5 separate regions of the Homo sapiens genome follow, and regions 2, 3, 4 and 5 are each linked to region 1. The links are contacts of gene promoters, found by promoter capture Hi-C in blood cells and fetal thymus (Javierre and others, 2016). All regions are on one chromosome and are shown on one strand. Each heading gives the region's core, a stretch centred on a gene start or on the middle of the fragment in contact. The rest is flanking DNA. Distances are from core to core; before and after follow the strand shown.

Region 1 (2,734 bases), core at 171-2,670:
TCCCTCCAAAAACTGCTGGAAATACCAAAGAGAAAAGAATGAATAATATATATATACCCACACACACACATTACATATGTTGAAATTACGAAACAATACCAACATTTCACCTACCCAAGACTAATCGCCCACTCTTCCCCTTTAAAACCTGGCTGTAGTCATTTTCTTTTTTTTTTTAATCAAATATAAAAATAATTTATTAAAGGTTTATATCAGAGAACTGCTGAAGCAACAAGAACTAGAAGAGTTAATATTCCAGAAAAGGGAAAATCATGGAGAGGTAGTCCAACATTCTGCAGCTAGCTTTTCCCTGGGTGCATATAATAATTCTTGGTGTAGGCAAGAAGATGAATACAATGGTTATATACCAAACAGAAAAATCGATATCAGAGAAAAGAGCAGGGCTTATGATGGACTCCAAAGAACAGGGTGAGAAAATTGGAGATTAAAGGAGAATGGGGCTGCTTCACCCTCAAATTATTTGCCAAATTTTGAAACTATGTCATTTTCCCTTTAGAGTCTCCTCTCCCTCTTCTCTGCTGGCTCCTTCTCATTTGCATTTAAACTTGTTTAAAACTCTTCCAACTTAAATAAAAACAAAAACCCTCACTGAATTCTCTGTTGCTCTCCAACTGCAACTTTTCTCTTTCATTGCCACACTTCTTACATATTGAATAGATTGTCAGATAATTCAGAAGCTTACTTTCTCCATTCTTTGTATGTTACCTCTATGTATCTGAAGTTTAGTGAGAAATACAATGTTTCGCGATCTTTTGTGACAGGCTAAATATACTGAGATTGGTGTTAACTTTTGTTTGGATTGGTAAGAGCTTACAGTAAGTCTGGAATTGATACCAATAGAGACAGGAGGAGGAAATGTCAAACTGAGTCTATTCAAGTGTGACTTGAATGTGTTTCCGAAAAAGGAAAATCTCATTTCAGATACAGCAGTAGCAATGACTGAGGCTGCGAGACATGCTGGCAGAGTCCTTACAAGCCGCAGGGGACCTACAAAGTGTGCAGTCCGAGTGATAGAAATGTAAAGAATGGGTAACTTAAAAGGTAAAGAAACTTGGAGAAAAAGCGACAGATCTGCCTGAAAAGAGAATTAGCAACTGGCACCTGCCAGAACATCTAAAAAATCGGTAGCTACAAAAGGGTTTACCGGCATTGCAAAGGGAGAACTCACCCAAATTAAGGTGAGATTCAGTACTGACGAGGTAAGGGAAGGGGTGAGTGGGCTAGCTTACGGGAACCCTCAACTCCCACAACAATAAATAACTACAAAAGCCCCAAAACAGAGGTACCTGGCGCAACACCTCGGCCCTGGCATTCCGGGTCTGTTCTTTCCGCTCTTCGATACTCTTCGCACTTTCAAATCTACCACTAGCAGCCGCCATACTTGTTGCCATCGTAAAGCTAAGAAGCCGCAAGAAAATTCTAGTTTACGACGGTCGTAATTTAACAAACAAACCGGGACTTCCGGACCCGAGGAAGGAGGAGCACGGCTCCACCAACAGGGCATGCGCACATCTGAGGTCGCTTAGGGCTCGGATTACCGCAGCCCAGATTTTAAAGACCCGAAGGGTGTTGGAGGGTTTAATTCTTTCAGGTGTTGGGTGCGATTGTGAGCAGGATTAATACCCGTATATATTTATTATGCACTTTTTACTATATTAACAGCTTTCTCACCAATTTCGTCTTAAAATCACCGGAGTAAGTTACAAGCTCTTGGAAGTTAAGTTGGTACCTCTCAAAAGTTTTCTGCGGAAGTACCCTTTGTCGCCAGAGCATCATTTCCCTGTGCTGGAGGAATGGGATAAAGGGAGGCTGCCAGAAAGGTAGTGGCAGCTGGCAGGAAGGACAGAATTGCCTTGAAGATTCAGTGTTTTGTTTTGGTGGATTTTACTTAATATATGAAACACTCATGTGAATTTTGCATTGCACTTCACAATTTACCCGTGCTTAACTTGTTAGAAGTTTACATTATATTTTTTCCTCTGACCCCATATTATTTACTCATACTTATCCATCCAAGCATTTTTCATTACAATGGACAGTTACTTATTTATTTCTGCGGAGATTTCTTTGTTTTGTTTTACGCATGTATCGCCCAAACATAAAACTTTTAAGTTCAGAAGAATAAGACATTCTAAGGTGATGAAGTGCTTTGAGAACATAAGACACTAAGCTTACATTTACAAGAAGAAGAAGGCTGGGGAATTAATTATAAACGATACCTTAAAGACGCTAAAAATAAGTAACATAAGCCAGGTTGAGGTAAATACTCTTTCTCTTCAGGTTTCATAAAATTTAATGTGTGTTTGCAAGAAGCTTTCCAAGAGTTTTTACATTCACTACCATTCTATGAGTCTGAATCTTGAACACACAATGCCTACTTGTTTGATATGCAATAGAAAGTATTCATTTTATTTTAAAATGTAATTTACTAATCGACCTTGTAATATTTAATCAACTGACTACATTGACTGATATTTGTCATAACTAGCATCAACGTCTTTTCAGATTCTCTTGGAATTCAGAAAAACATCCATTTCACTGTTTTGCATCAATTCAATAAAAATAAACTGTGATTATATTAGAAACGTGTGTGTTTTAATCAGTTCAGGCTGCTATAACAAAATATTATAGAATGGATGGCTTATAAATAACAAACAAGTATGTCTTACAGTTCTGGAGGCTGGATAAAATCAAGGTGTTGGGCTATTTGCTG
Region 2 (2,734 bases), core at 138-2,637, 6.9 Mb after region 1:
GGTGATTCCTATTCACTTAGTAGCCTCCCCATCTAGAATATACTCCGTGATCTTTCTTGATGGCCAGACTGTGTAAAATTCATACAGTGTTTACTACAGGGATCCCCAAATATTGTTAGTTGAATGAACAAACACACATTTCAAGGAGGGCACTACAGTGAGTAGATGAACAGTTTTCTGATAGGAGATTGTACAAGTAATGTTTTCACCAGTGTATTTTAGGACAGCAGATTCAGATTAATGCGCTGGGACTGAATGCAAATAGTAAAATTACAAATATAAAGTAAAAATTTGGAACCTTTGCCAAAGAAAGGAATAATAAATTGATTTAATAATTTGAAAGAACTGTAAGGTTTAGGTTTTGTTCTTATTTTTAGTGCGACTGAGATTGGAGTCTGTTTGTAGACATATCTGAAAAAAGTGAAGGGGGAGATGGAAGATGGTAAATGCCAAGGAAAAGATGGAAGGATAAATCAGTGTAATAAAAAGGAGCACTTCTTTTTCGCCAACAGAAGTAAAGGTAAAGGTTAAGTGTCTGAGTTAACGAATGGATTGTTGACCTCTGGGGAGGGTGCTCCCATCAGCTCAGCTTTGTGACGACCTAAGAATATCCCTTCCACACCTTTCCTGATCCAATCGTTCTGGCTGCATAAAACCACCTAAATCAATCAACTGTTACACTTCCCTTAGTGCTAGGACATATTCATATAACTCCCACGTATTAAATGAAAATACATCCATCTAAAAATAAAACAACACGATTGCTGCTACACCAAGAAAGGATTTTAAAAAGGCCTGTTCACAAGCTAAGTGAGGGCCAGAGGAAAGGTGTTCGTTTAAACTGAAATTCGAGCTGCGATAACACCTCCTAATGCAATCAAACGCTGTTGCAGCACACTTCTTAGGAGATCGGGTTCAACGGCAGGGATTGGGTAAGGTGAGAATCTGGCTTGGCGGCTCCGGCCCCGGCCATCTGGTTCCCTTGGGCTCCGGCCGCCACCATCCACTCGACGGCTCTCGGCCCGAACGCTTGGTCGCACCGCCTGCCGAGGTCCTAGATGAATCGCTTCAGGCCTGGAAACGAGGAAGCCGTCTCCGGAGACCATCGCCAACGCTGACGCCCGCGGTCTGAGGTCGCCATGGGAAGAGCGGTAGGCCACCCTGCTCCTCTGATCACCGGAGGACAGGGACACATTGTTCAGGGCCATATTCAAACACTGCCCGCAGTACTTGCGTTACGTCCCTTTGTGAAGGCAGGCCCTTCGCGGCTCCCCAGATCAGTCCAGCCTGTGTCGGACCCGATGACTAAGCACACAGGAACCCATAACTGAGCCTGCGGAAGAGCCAGAAGCCGCCTTGCCTTTAACGAGGGGTATCCTGGCGAGCATGCGCAGACCGTCCGCGCACGTCGTCGCCCGCTGAGAGCAAGCGCAACGGGCGTTTTCGTTTGTGACGCCAGGGAGCGTGAGGACGTGGGGCTTCCGTGAATGCGCAGTGGGTGCGTCGGCCACGACCTTTTGGCCAGGTTAGGGAGGGGGCGACGCTGAGATGGGGGCGGCGGCGGCGGAAGCGGATCGCACTCTCTTTGTGGGCAACCTTGAAACGAAAGTGACCGAGGAGCTCCTTTTCGAGCTTTTCCACCAGGTAAGCGGCTGGGTTCGGCCCTTTGCCTTTCGTTTTCCGTCTCGCCTAGGGCCTGGCCAGCGGCCACCCCGTTTTCTTTTCGTAGCCGTCAGGGGACCCGACGGGTGGCTGTTTGGGGGTGAAAGGCGGGTCTGGGTTGCGAAACGCTCGCTGGGTGTCGCTTTCCTGGAAGATCTTGGTTCGTTTAGGCCGAAAGTGACGACTAAAGGTGGTGGAGGGATCCTCGATCAGGTTTCCCGTGGTAGAGATCCAGGGGTCCTTGGGAACACAGTGTGTGTGTAGGGTCTTCGTTGAGCAGTGCTTTTTCTTATCCTTCCTGTTGTCATCTTCCCCTTAGGATAATTTGTCTTTGGTTTATCTGACTGGGAACTTAATATTTTAATTTATTTGTGTCTGTTTTCCCCTAAAGTTTGCTTATCAAATTGCAGCATTATTAAAATATGTAAAATAAAATGGTTAAGTACTCCGTAGAAAAACAGCATTTTAGTGTTGCTGTATTAAAAAGTGTGAAAAATTCTGAGTATCCTATTCCCCCCATCCCTATCCCCTAATAACTGGTATTGTTTGATTAATCAATACAAAAGTCCGTTTTTAGTTAAAGAAAATCATTCTCTTGTTCTTGATAAATGTTCATTTTCATGGAGTGGCAAAATAATGGCGATTGGTCACTATGTTAAGCCATACAGTGCTGTGAATTGCAAAAGTGATTGTGTTTCCAGTTCCTTATGGGCCCCCTTCCCCAAATAAATCTAATGTTCAGTCATAACTAGGATGTTTACTGTAGCCAAAATGGAAATCCGTGCATCATTTTCAAAAGAAGTTTCTGATTACGTTTCTGTTGTTTTTAAACTTTGTCATATCTTATTTGTAAAATTTGAGTATTTTCCCTTAGTTGCTTTATTTAAATTCTAAACACCTTTTTGTTTGTAGGCTGGGCCAGTAATAAAGGTGAAAATTCCAAAAGATAAGGATGGTAAACCAAAGCAGTTTGCGTTTGTGAATTTCAAACATGAAGTGTCTGTTCCTTATGCAATGAATCTACTTAATGGAATCAAACTTTATGGAAGGCCTATCAAAATTCAATTTAGAT
Region 3 (2,734 bases), core at 118-2,617, 5.9 Mb after region 1:
CAGGCAGGTCACTGCGCCATTTCCTGTCCAAAGCTGGGCGAATCAGGTCGGTGCCGCGGGGTACCCCGGAATCCCCCCTGGGAGCTGGTCCTGCACTGGCCTTCAGAGCCGAGCAGAGGACGCTGCTTTGGGCCCCAGAGCATGGGAAGGTCTTGGCTGCGGTCTGGGACGGCTGCGGTCTGGGACCTGCATGGAGGGCCCGGGACTTGCGGACGCCTGGGAGCGGTTGCTGGGCAACAGTGCGTGCGGCCTGGCCTCTTTGCGCCCGGCGGGCAGCGCGCGTCTGGGGCAGGCTCCGCGCGGGGCTCGGGCACAGGTCCCCGCTGCCGCAGCCCTACCGAGTGAAGCACTGAGCGCGGCGCCGCTTCGCCATCACCTGGCTCTGGCCCTCTCACCCTAGCGTAGGGGGGCACTGGCCAGGCAGTGAGGACCCTGAGATCCATGCCCTGGGAGACAGAGGTTGTCTCCTGTCCATGCACCCGCGCGCCTGCCTTCTAACCTTCATACCGTTGGGCAGATTAATTCACTGGACTAGGCCTCTGTTCCGTGGGAGTTGAAAAGATTTGACCTGGAAGAAACCCTAGCGATTATTCAGTTAAGCCGCAACCCCACCCCCTGTTTTATATAGGTAAGGGTGCTTCACGGTGAGGACTCGTCGCGTGCCTGGTGCTTTACATCAGTCCCCAGAATAGTCCTCGTAGTTTCTCTCTTACTGTTCCCATAGTATGGGTGAGGACTCTGAGGCTCGGAGAGGTTGTGAATTTAGCCAGAATCACACAGCTTGTAACTGGTGGAGATGAGGACACTGAGACTCGATTAAATCACTCGTAGTTTGTTCGTGGCAGATTACGTGTTAGAAGCGTGTTACACTACTATGAAACCTGGCCATAAATGAGAATCACCTGGAAAGTGTTTAAAATCTATATTCGTGTCTGGGCAATGTCCCGGGTTTACTGACTTGAAATCTCGGGCTACGGCTGAGGAAGCTGTATATTTAACAATCTTCCCGATGATTTTTATGATCTGTGGATGAACCACTGAGTACTGCTGGGTACACCACGGGGCCTTCTCGCACAAAAACAACTGTAAAATAATATCTGAGGTACCTAGAGCAGAAGAGACGCTGGTGAGCATGGTAACATTATGTTCTAATCCCTTCAGTCAATTTGTACCCTTTCTTCACTCTTCAGAAACAAGCCAAAGGCAGATTTTAAACAAGTATGGACATTTAGATGCAAATTGCCCCAAGTTTGTTACCTGTCACACATCCACATTTAAGCTTCTGACTAGACCAGCCTGTCATGATCAAAGTCAGGTGTTAGTGTATTTCTCTATCCTTGGCAACCTGTCATCTGCTCTCTTCTCATCTCCATGCCAGGTCCCTAAATCGCCGGGGTTGATGTTGGCTTTGGAAGAACTATTTGCAGAGCGTTTTCTGCACTGGAAGGAGGGCTGGAAGCTTTCTGGAAGCATTGCCGCACGTAAATGAGTGCCTCTTGGCCTAAAACAGCAGTTGGAATGAAAGGGATCACCCTGCTGTTATTCATTGACATAAACAAAACTGTCATAAAAATAATCACTTGGCTCTTAGTTTTAGAAGGCTAATAAGCCTGACCGTTCTGTTTAGTGCTTTATTATTATTAATTTCACCATTATGCTGCATCCCTTAGGGATTCCGGTTCACAATGGATGCTGATAAAGAGAAAGATTTGCAGAAATTTCTTAAAAATGTGGATGAAATCTGTAAGTACTAGTAAATCATAAATTAATTTCTGCTTTAGAGAAGTGGAGTAGATAAATGATTGCTCTAAGTTCCTGGGTGGCTTGACAGGTTTATAACTCTTAGGAAAAAAATGTAATTGAAATTAAAGAGAAGGGTATTGAGAAACAAGTTATAGCCTCAGGGCTGTATTTTCTGGCTGTTAATTGGTATCAGAGAAACTGTTAACATTCTGATAGGAATTCAGGCTGACGGTTTTCTTCCATATTTTGTATCCTTCTATGTGGAATCCAGTCAAAACCAGCTGCTGTTTCCCCATTGACAATGAACCCAGCTGTTCCCTTCAAGGGTCAAGAACCTCATTGATCAGTGTGAGATTCCTCCCGTTTTAGAGTAGAGCCATTTCTGTTTTAGAGCTGCAGAGGCAAAATCAAATGGCTTTCCTTTAGGATCCATCAAATTACATGGATGGTTTATGATCATCATTCCCTTCTCTCTCTCTAGACAAGAAAGTCCTTTCCCAAGTTCAGGCAGGTTGGATCTCAAAGAAATGTACTCTGATCCCACAGATCACATTCAGGAATTTCCAAACCTGTCAGTCCCTGTTCAGGGAGCTTGCTTGAGTATAGAAACAAACAAACCAACAAGCAAACAGACCTTACATAGTAAATACAGGCAATATGCTGAAATTGCTGCTTGTAGCAGATTGTATGGGTTCAAGGAATAAAGTGGTTTTAAAGCTAGCTTGGGTGACATCGTAAATGATACATGAATAATGCTTATCCCTGAATGCTGTTCCATGGAGCTCTGGCCTTGGCCCACTGCCACCTTTCTCTTCAGCTGGTCTAAACATGTAGCTTTACCTGCCACCTGTTTGTTCATGACCCCCACATCTACATGGACACTTAGCCTTCTTTTCTGAGCCTCTGCCTCTATGGTACTGTCATACCTACTGTATCCCACAAATAAACTTAAATGTGTCCAAAATTGAGGCATCATCTCTTTCCCTCCCCT
Region 4 (2,734 bases), core at 1-2,500, 5.5 Mb before region 1:
GCTGAAGTGAAGGATGCTGGCGGGGAGGCCCGGAACCCGGAGCGCGGTCGGGGAACTGGGCACTGAATCATCGGACAACCTCGACAGAGCCCCCCTCGGCCCTCGGGAGAGCGGCGGGCATCACCGACCTGGCTCTTACCTGTATCCTTCCCAGCCTGTGGCTGCCAGGGTAGCGATGTTGAAAACGGGGCCCATCTTTTTCCAATTAGATTCCCATTACCTTTGACGCAGGGTGATCAAAACTAGCAAGTCATCTTAGTGCAGATATTTCCTTTAGCAACTGTCGTGTCTCACCTTAGACCTGAAATTATACCATTTTATCTAATTCTGTGGCTGCTTCCCCCCATCACCCTGTTATCCTACTCCCATTCTTCAACTTTGTAAAATTTTTGTGAATTTTAAAACACATCAACTGTGTATTCTGTGGGGATATTTTTATGCCATTATGTTCTTTACTTACATATTAACTACTTCCTGATTTATCGTACTACTTGGAGAGAGAAATTACACAAATAAGTAAAATGTTTTGCTATCCTAAAGAGTCCGTTTTAACAGTTATCCTAACACAGCCCTAAATGCATTTACCAGAGCTGCTAAAGGCTACACAGTTTGGTAAGTTGTTTTGTTTTCCATCTCTGCCCAGTCTGTTGTCAGAGCGACAGAAAAGAGGAAATGAGAAACAGGGGACCTGGACGCTTTACAATCTGGATTAACTCTGACTTTTCTCGAAGAGTTGGTTAAGCCTACCTTTGATGTTGCTGTTGGTTGCATTGTAGAAAATGGAAAGAGGAGAAGTATTTTGTTATCAAAATCTGTAAATCAGGTTTATTCCTTTAGAGACTGTTGTGATGATTAGGATTTAACCTTTGTATTCCCAAAGGACTTGGTTGGCAATGATGGTGTTGTGTAATCATCTTCAGTCTTGTCAGAGATGAGTGTCTTCTCTTTCCAAGTTAACTCTGTTTTCTTATCCCCTTTGTCTCCAATTTCTAGGATGTTCTTTGTACTCTGTTACAATTTTAGCAGCAAGTCAACAATTTGTATTGAGTGCCTGCTCTTTGGCTGACTCTGTTCTAGGTTCTAGGGATACAAATCTAGTGAGGAAGACAAATGTGTATAGAGCTTCACTAAAAGTAAAATATCTCTTCTCCGATCATGCTTTCTGCAATCTTCCATCCCTTCAGTCTTTTCTTTCTTTGGGCAGGTTCTCAAAATGGTAGCTTGCAATAGCTGCTTCTAGTTCCTCTCATCTATTCATTATTAACCCCATTCAGTTTGGCTTTTGCCCTTGCTGCTCCCCAAAATTGCCCTCTTAAAGGTTACTCTGAAATGAACACAATCATTTTCTGTATGGATTTAATTCTGGCCTCTTGACATTATATTTTCTTGGACACAACTGCTATTACACGACCCTGATTTATCTCTAAATCAGAAAATAGGGAAGTATTGTAAATGGCTCATTGAGAGTGTATTTTCTGTTATTTTCATTAATAAAATGGTTGTAGGCCTCATTTTTTAAATTTTATGTGGTATAAATTTTTGATACAAATGCCAAAGAAAATATTCATAAATAGAATCCAGCAATACTTTGAATGAACACAACCAAATAGACTCTATTCCAGAATTAGAATGACATTTCCTATAAAGAAATACAACACTAAAAAAGATCCTTAAAGGCTAAATATATAGTTAAAATTAGGCAAGTTATAAATGAACATTTTAATAGATGACCAATAGACTTTGATAAAATCCAACAATGTGTGTGTGTGTGTGTGTGTGTGTGTGTGTGTGTGTGTGTGTGTGTGCTGGTTTATATATATTTTTGCTAGTTTGCATATGTGTGTATATATATGTTTAGATAATATATATTTAAATTGGAACAGAGGAATTATTTTTGAACATAATAAAGATTATAACACTAAATCAAGAACATTATGTTTGCTAGCTGGAAAAACACTAAAGTACCTTTTATATAAGTTTAATTGGAATGTTCTTTGTGTCTATAATGTTTCCCATTGGATACCTAGCACAGAGTAGGTGCTCAAATTTACATGACTAAATGAAAAAAAGGAAAGAAAGCAAATGAAAGGACCACAGCCTTAAAATAAGCAAGTATGTGGTAACATTTACATTTCAATTTCAAATATGAACATGATACTCAGAGGCCATCTGGCTTTCTGTTGAAGACATTTTCTCACTGGAGTCAGAATTTTCTGACTCTAAAGGTTATAAAACAACAAAACCTTATGAAGTTTATTTAATTAAAATTAGCTAAAGTTCTGTCATTTCAATCTCTTTTTCTCTTTTGAGAGTTCAAATAGAAATGGAATTTAAAAAAAAAAAAAAAAGGAAGGTCTCTCATGTCCCCTTATACCTGCCTTTTTTTCCTCATAAATATCTCTACCCTTCAACCCTCCCATTTTATCCTAGCACCCACCTTGCCTCTCCTTTCCTCTCCAGTTTATACCCTATTCTTAACTATTTGAACTTTCTCTCACCAACATCTTTGGCTATTTGTACCCCAATCATTCTGCCTCAGCCACTCAATAACTACTATAGTCCTGCTCCTTTACTCCTTCATGCGAATAATAAAAATGCTGTCAAAGAAAAATCACAAAACAATACAGATTGTACCACTAAAGATTGATGGTTTCCAGCTTCACCTAAACAGGAACAGGGTTCTTTCTTTTTCCTATGAATGCCTCTGCCAGGTCTCTGTCACCTTCCATCACAC
Region 5 (2,734 bases), core at 94-2,593, 5.1 Mb before region 1:
TGAAAATATCTATGTTTACATTTTGTAGATTCTTGACATGTACAAGAGCTTTATGTTTTAATGTTAAGTTAAAAATGGGCAAGGGAATGCAGAGCTTTTCAAAATTCTTCTGGTGAGTACATAATCAAAAATGTGTAAGGCCTGCAAATTATTTTCAATAATCTCAGGAGTGAGTTGAAAATGGCTTAGAAAGTCTTGATTGAAGCAGACTCAAATGTGGATTAAAATCTCCATATGATAAATACACTTAGTCTTTCTGAAATAATTCCAACTGGAACTTCAGCTGCTATGGACAGCCAAGTCCACCTAAACAAGAGGATGCCTCAGCTCAGTCCAATTGCGTGCAGAATGCACTGGATGCTGTTTCCACAGAACGATGAAGTCTCCAATAATCTTTATGGGCTCTGTCTCTGGTTGGTAATTGTCTTTGATCTACTGGAAGATAGAAAATCAGATGAGCTCTCCAAATCCATCTGTTACCCTGGTACGGATGGCTCTCAGATAAAGTTGCTTAAATTTACTGCTTAGAGAACGTTGAGGGAAATATGGCAGTGCAATTAGACTCAAAGATGTCAGGTTTCCCTGAGAATGGCACTGCAACTCAGAAACCTGCCCTGTGAGATCAAAGGCTATAAAGGAGGGATTTTTTTAAGTAGCCAACTCCACCCTACTTATTAAAAAAAAAAAAAAAACAACTCACCAAACCAAACAAAAGTATTTCCATACAGAAAATTTACCAAGCCATTTCAATCTTTAAAATGGTAAAATAAACTGCAAAGGAGAACTGCATGATTTTTTTCACATACCCCTACATTTCCTTTCACCTCTTACTTTCTTGATCAGAACAAAAAGTAAAAATAAATAGAAATATTTCACAAAGTTTCGATTTTTTTTTTTTTAAATGCTGGACTTCTGCAGCTATAGTAGAAGATTGAAAAACCTAACCTTTTTACGTGTAAAGTGTATGGCGGATGGAGGGTGGAGAACAGGGCATATTGACCTTTTCCAGGCAGGCTAAGCAATGATCGTCCTCTCTATATGGGTTGTTATCAAGATTTCCTCTGACCCACGAGCAATGAAGCAAATGTCTTTCAGTAAATGCCGCGAAGATATGCCACGGTTAAGAGTCATGCTTTTGGGTCATGGAAATCCCCGAGTGGGTTTGCCAGGCCACTGATTAAGAGGAAGTGTGTGTGGTTATTACCGCTGGAGTTCCCCTAAGTCCTAAAAGGAAAGCACCAGTGCACATGCAAACCACTGGGAGGAGTGCGGAACGCCTGGTACAGATAGGGGTGGGGATTTGGGTGACGCATTTAAAAGACAGCGTGAGACTCGCGCCCTCCGGCACGGAAAAGGCCAGGCGACAGGTGTCGCTTGAAAAGACTGGGCTTGTCCTTGCTGGTGCATGCGTCGTCGGCCTCTGGGCAGCAGGTGGGCAAGGAAGGCTGGTGTGTGTGTGTGTGTGTGTGCGTGTGTGTGTGTGTATGTGTGCGCGCGCGCGCGCCTCCCCTGGTGTAAGAGATGTGCCAGCGGCTGGCCGAGGGGCGCTTAGGGCTAGAGCCCGGGGCGCTGCAGAGGTTGAGAGTCAGTGGGTGGGGCGCAGTTATCAAACACCAGGGCCCAAAAGCAGGCTCTAGATAGGTTCCAGGTGCTCAATTTCTATTTCACGTTTGGAGTGAGCCAGTGGAATTGTGAAGTTGTGGCATTTTGATTCGGTTGCCAAGAGTTATCACTGGGCCTTTGCAGGTGCCAAATAAATTTCAGGACAGAGCCTAAGGCAGAGCTCTGGCACAGGAAGGAAGTAAAACGTTTAATGAGCAAATGGACGCATGTTTCCAAGCGGTGGTAGGAAGACAGCAGTTTTTGGTTGTCTTCCTGGTGATCAGCATGGAAACCTAGTAGTGCTCTTACTCTGATCAATACATTGTCGAAGGCATGTACCTGATGCTAACGTAACAATAATATTAAATATTGACTTTATTTGCTATTATTTATTGCTAACATTAAGTACTGCTACCTGCTATGTGCTAGGTTTGTCTCTGAAGACTTTACATGTATTTTTCACGTTTAATTATCATAATCTTAAGAAGCAGGTACCATAATTATCTCCATTTGACAATGAGGAAACTGAGGCTCTTGGAGATTTACTTGTGCAAGGTCATGCTTCTGGTTACCGGACTGCTTGGTATTGGGCACCCCCGATGTCTGACTCCAAAGCCTGATACTAATCAATCACTGAGCTGACTCTGTGGTCATTAATATAAAATTGATAGAAGTACTGTGGTCACTCAGGTCTCAGTCATTTACTTCTTCAACGGGAAGTCTTCGTGTCTACCCCATATACCAAGCTCTGCAGATGCTATGAGTGGGAGGGCAGGTACAGAGATGAAACATATTAATAGTTGCCATTCTAAAAGAGCTTACTGTCTAGCGGGAGGCAGAAAGAAAAGGCACACTTGCCCTCCAGTGTCAGAAAAATGGATGTGCTGCATGCCCAAAGGGTAGGGATGCCCAACAGCCCTGGGACTGGGGAGGTTGCCTTCTTGGTAGGTTAAATGAATGAGTCAGAAGAGGAGAGGCTGGGGACTGAGCCAATCTGAGAAGGAACCACTAGAAATGAAAGAAGAATCCCAAGAGCTTGGTATCAGAGAAGCCCAGGGAATGGGACATTTCTAAGAGGAAGTGTGTCCCAGTGTCAGATGCAAACATTTCCATTGGTTTTAGCAAAAAAGCC

Evidence for each region. Contacts are between HindIII fragments. The CHiCAGO score rates a contact against its expected background, and 5 or more counts as called.
Region 2: a contact is called between the fragment with the promoter of C11orf71 here and the fragment with the promoter of CWF19L2 in region 1, in 2 of 17 cell types (fetal thymus and activated CD4 T cells). The highest score is 9.2, in fetal thymus.
Region 3: a fragment that was not itself captured here is called in contact with the fragment with the promoter of CWF19L2 in region 1 in 1 of 17 cell types (naive CD8 T cells); the score reaches 6.1 in naive CD8 T cells.
Region 4: a contact is called between the fragment with the promoter of ANGPTL5 here and the fragment with the promoter of CWF19L2 in region 1, in 3 of 17 cell types (total CD4 T cells, total CD8 T cells and naive CD8 T cells). The highest score is 6.9, in total CD4 T cells.
Region 5: the fragment with the promoter of BIRC3 here is called in contact with the fragment with the promoter of CWF19L2 in region 1 in 3 of 17 cell types (activated CD4 T cells, total CD8 T cells and naive CD4 T cells); the score reaches 6.6 in activated CD4 T cells.

The regions. Positions count from the first base shown.
Region 1 is chr11:107,456,405-107,459,138 of GRCh38, forward strand. CWF19L2 (CWF19 like cell cycle control factor 2) reads right to left here and starts at 1,421. Exons shown (of 18, transcript NM_152434.3): 1 at 1,308-1,421. The coding sequence starts at 1,412. RefSeq lists an enhancer at 1,200-1,705. The HindIII fragment of the contact is 1,493 bases long and covers 697-2,189 here.
Region 2 is chr11:114,399,124-114,401,857 of GRCh38, forward strand. It overlaps C11orf71 (chromosome 11 open reading frame 71), which reads right to left and starts at 1,388. Exons shown (of 1, transcript NM_001271562.2): 1 at 1-1,388. The coding sequence starts at 1,208. The coding sequence ends at 837. It overlaps RBM7 (RNA binding motif protein 7), which reads left to right and starts at 1,543. Exons shown (of 5, transcript NM_001286045.2): 1 at 1,543-1,644; 2 at 2,575-2,734. The coding sequence starts at 1,549. RefSeq lists enhancers at 630-1,172, 886-1,275, 1,173-1,715. The HindIII fragment of the contact is 8,162 bases long and covers 1-2,734 here.
Region 3 is chr11:113,314,573-113,317,306 of GRCh38, forward strand. It overlaps TTC12 (tetratricopeptide repeat domain 12), which reads left to right and starts at 11. Exons shown (of 22, transcript NM_017868.4): 1 at 11-46; 2 at 1,671-1,743. The coding sequence starts at 1,686. RefSeq lists silencers at 1-71, 95-389, 282-381. The HindIII fragment of the contact is 180 bases long and covers 1,278-1,457 here.
Region 4 is chr11:101,915,272-101,918,005 of GRCh38, forward strand. It overlaps ANGPTL5 (angiopoietin like 5), which reads right to left and starts at 1,251. Exons shown (of 9, transcript NM_178127.5): 1 at 748-1,251. It overlaps CEP126 (centrosomal protein 126), which reads left to right. Exons shown (of 11, transcript NM_020802.4): 1 at 1-141. The coding sequence starts at 14. The HindIII fragment of the contact is 9,032 bases long and covers 1-2,734 here.
Region 5 is chr11:102,316,141-102,318,874 of GRCh38, forward strand. BIRC3 (baculoviral IAP repeat containing 3) reads left to right here and starts at 1,344. Exons shown (of 9, transcript NM_001165.5): 1 at 1,344-1,431. It overlaps LOC124902739 (a long non-coding RNA gene), which reads right to left and starts at 1,103. Exons shown (of 2, transcript XR_007062864.1): 1 at 946-1,103; 2 at 1-432. RefSeq lists enhancers at 791-1,990, 895-964, 975-1,334, 2,136-2,335, 2,596-2,645. The HindIII fragment of the contact is 7,438 bases long and covers 1-2,734 here.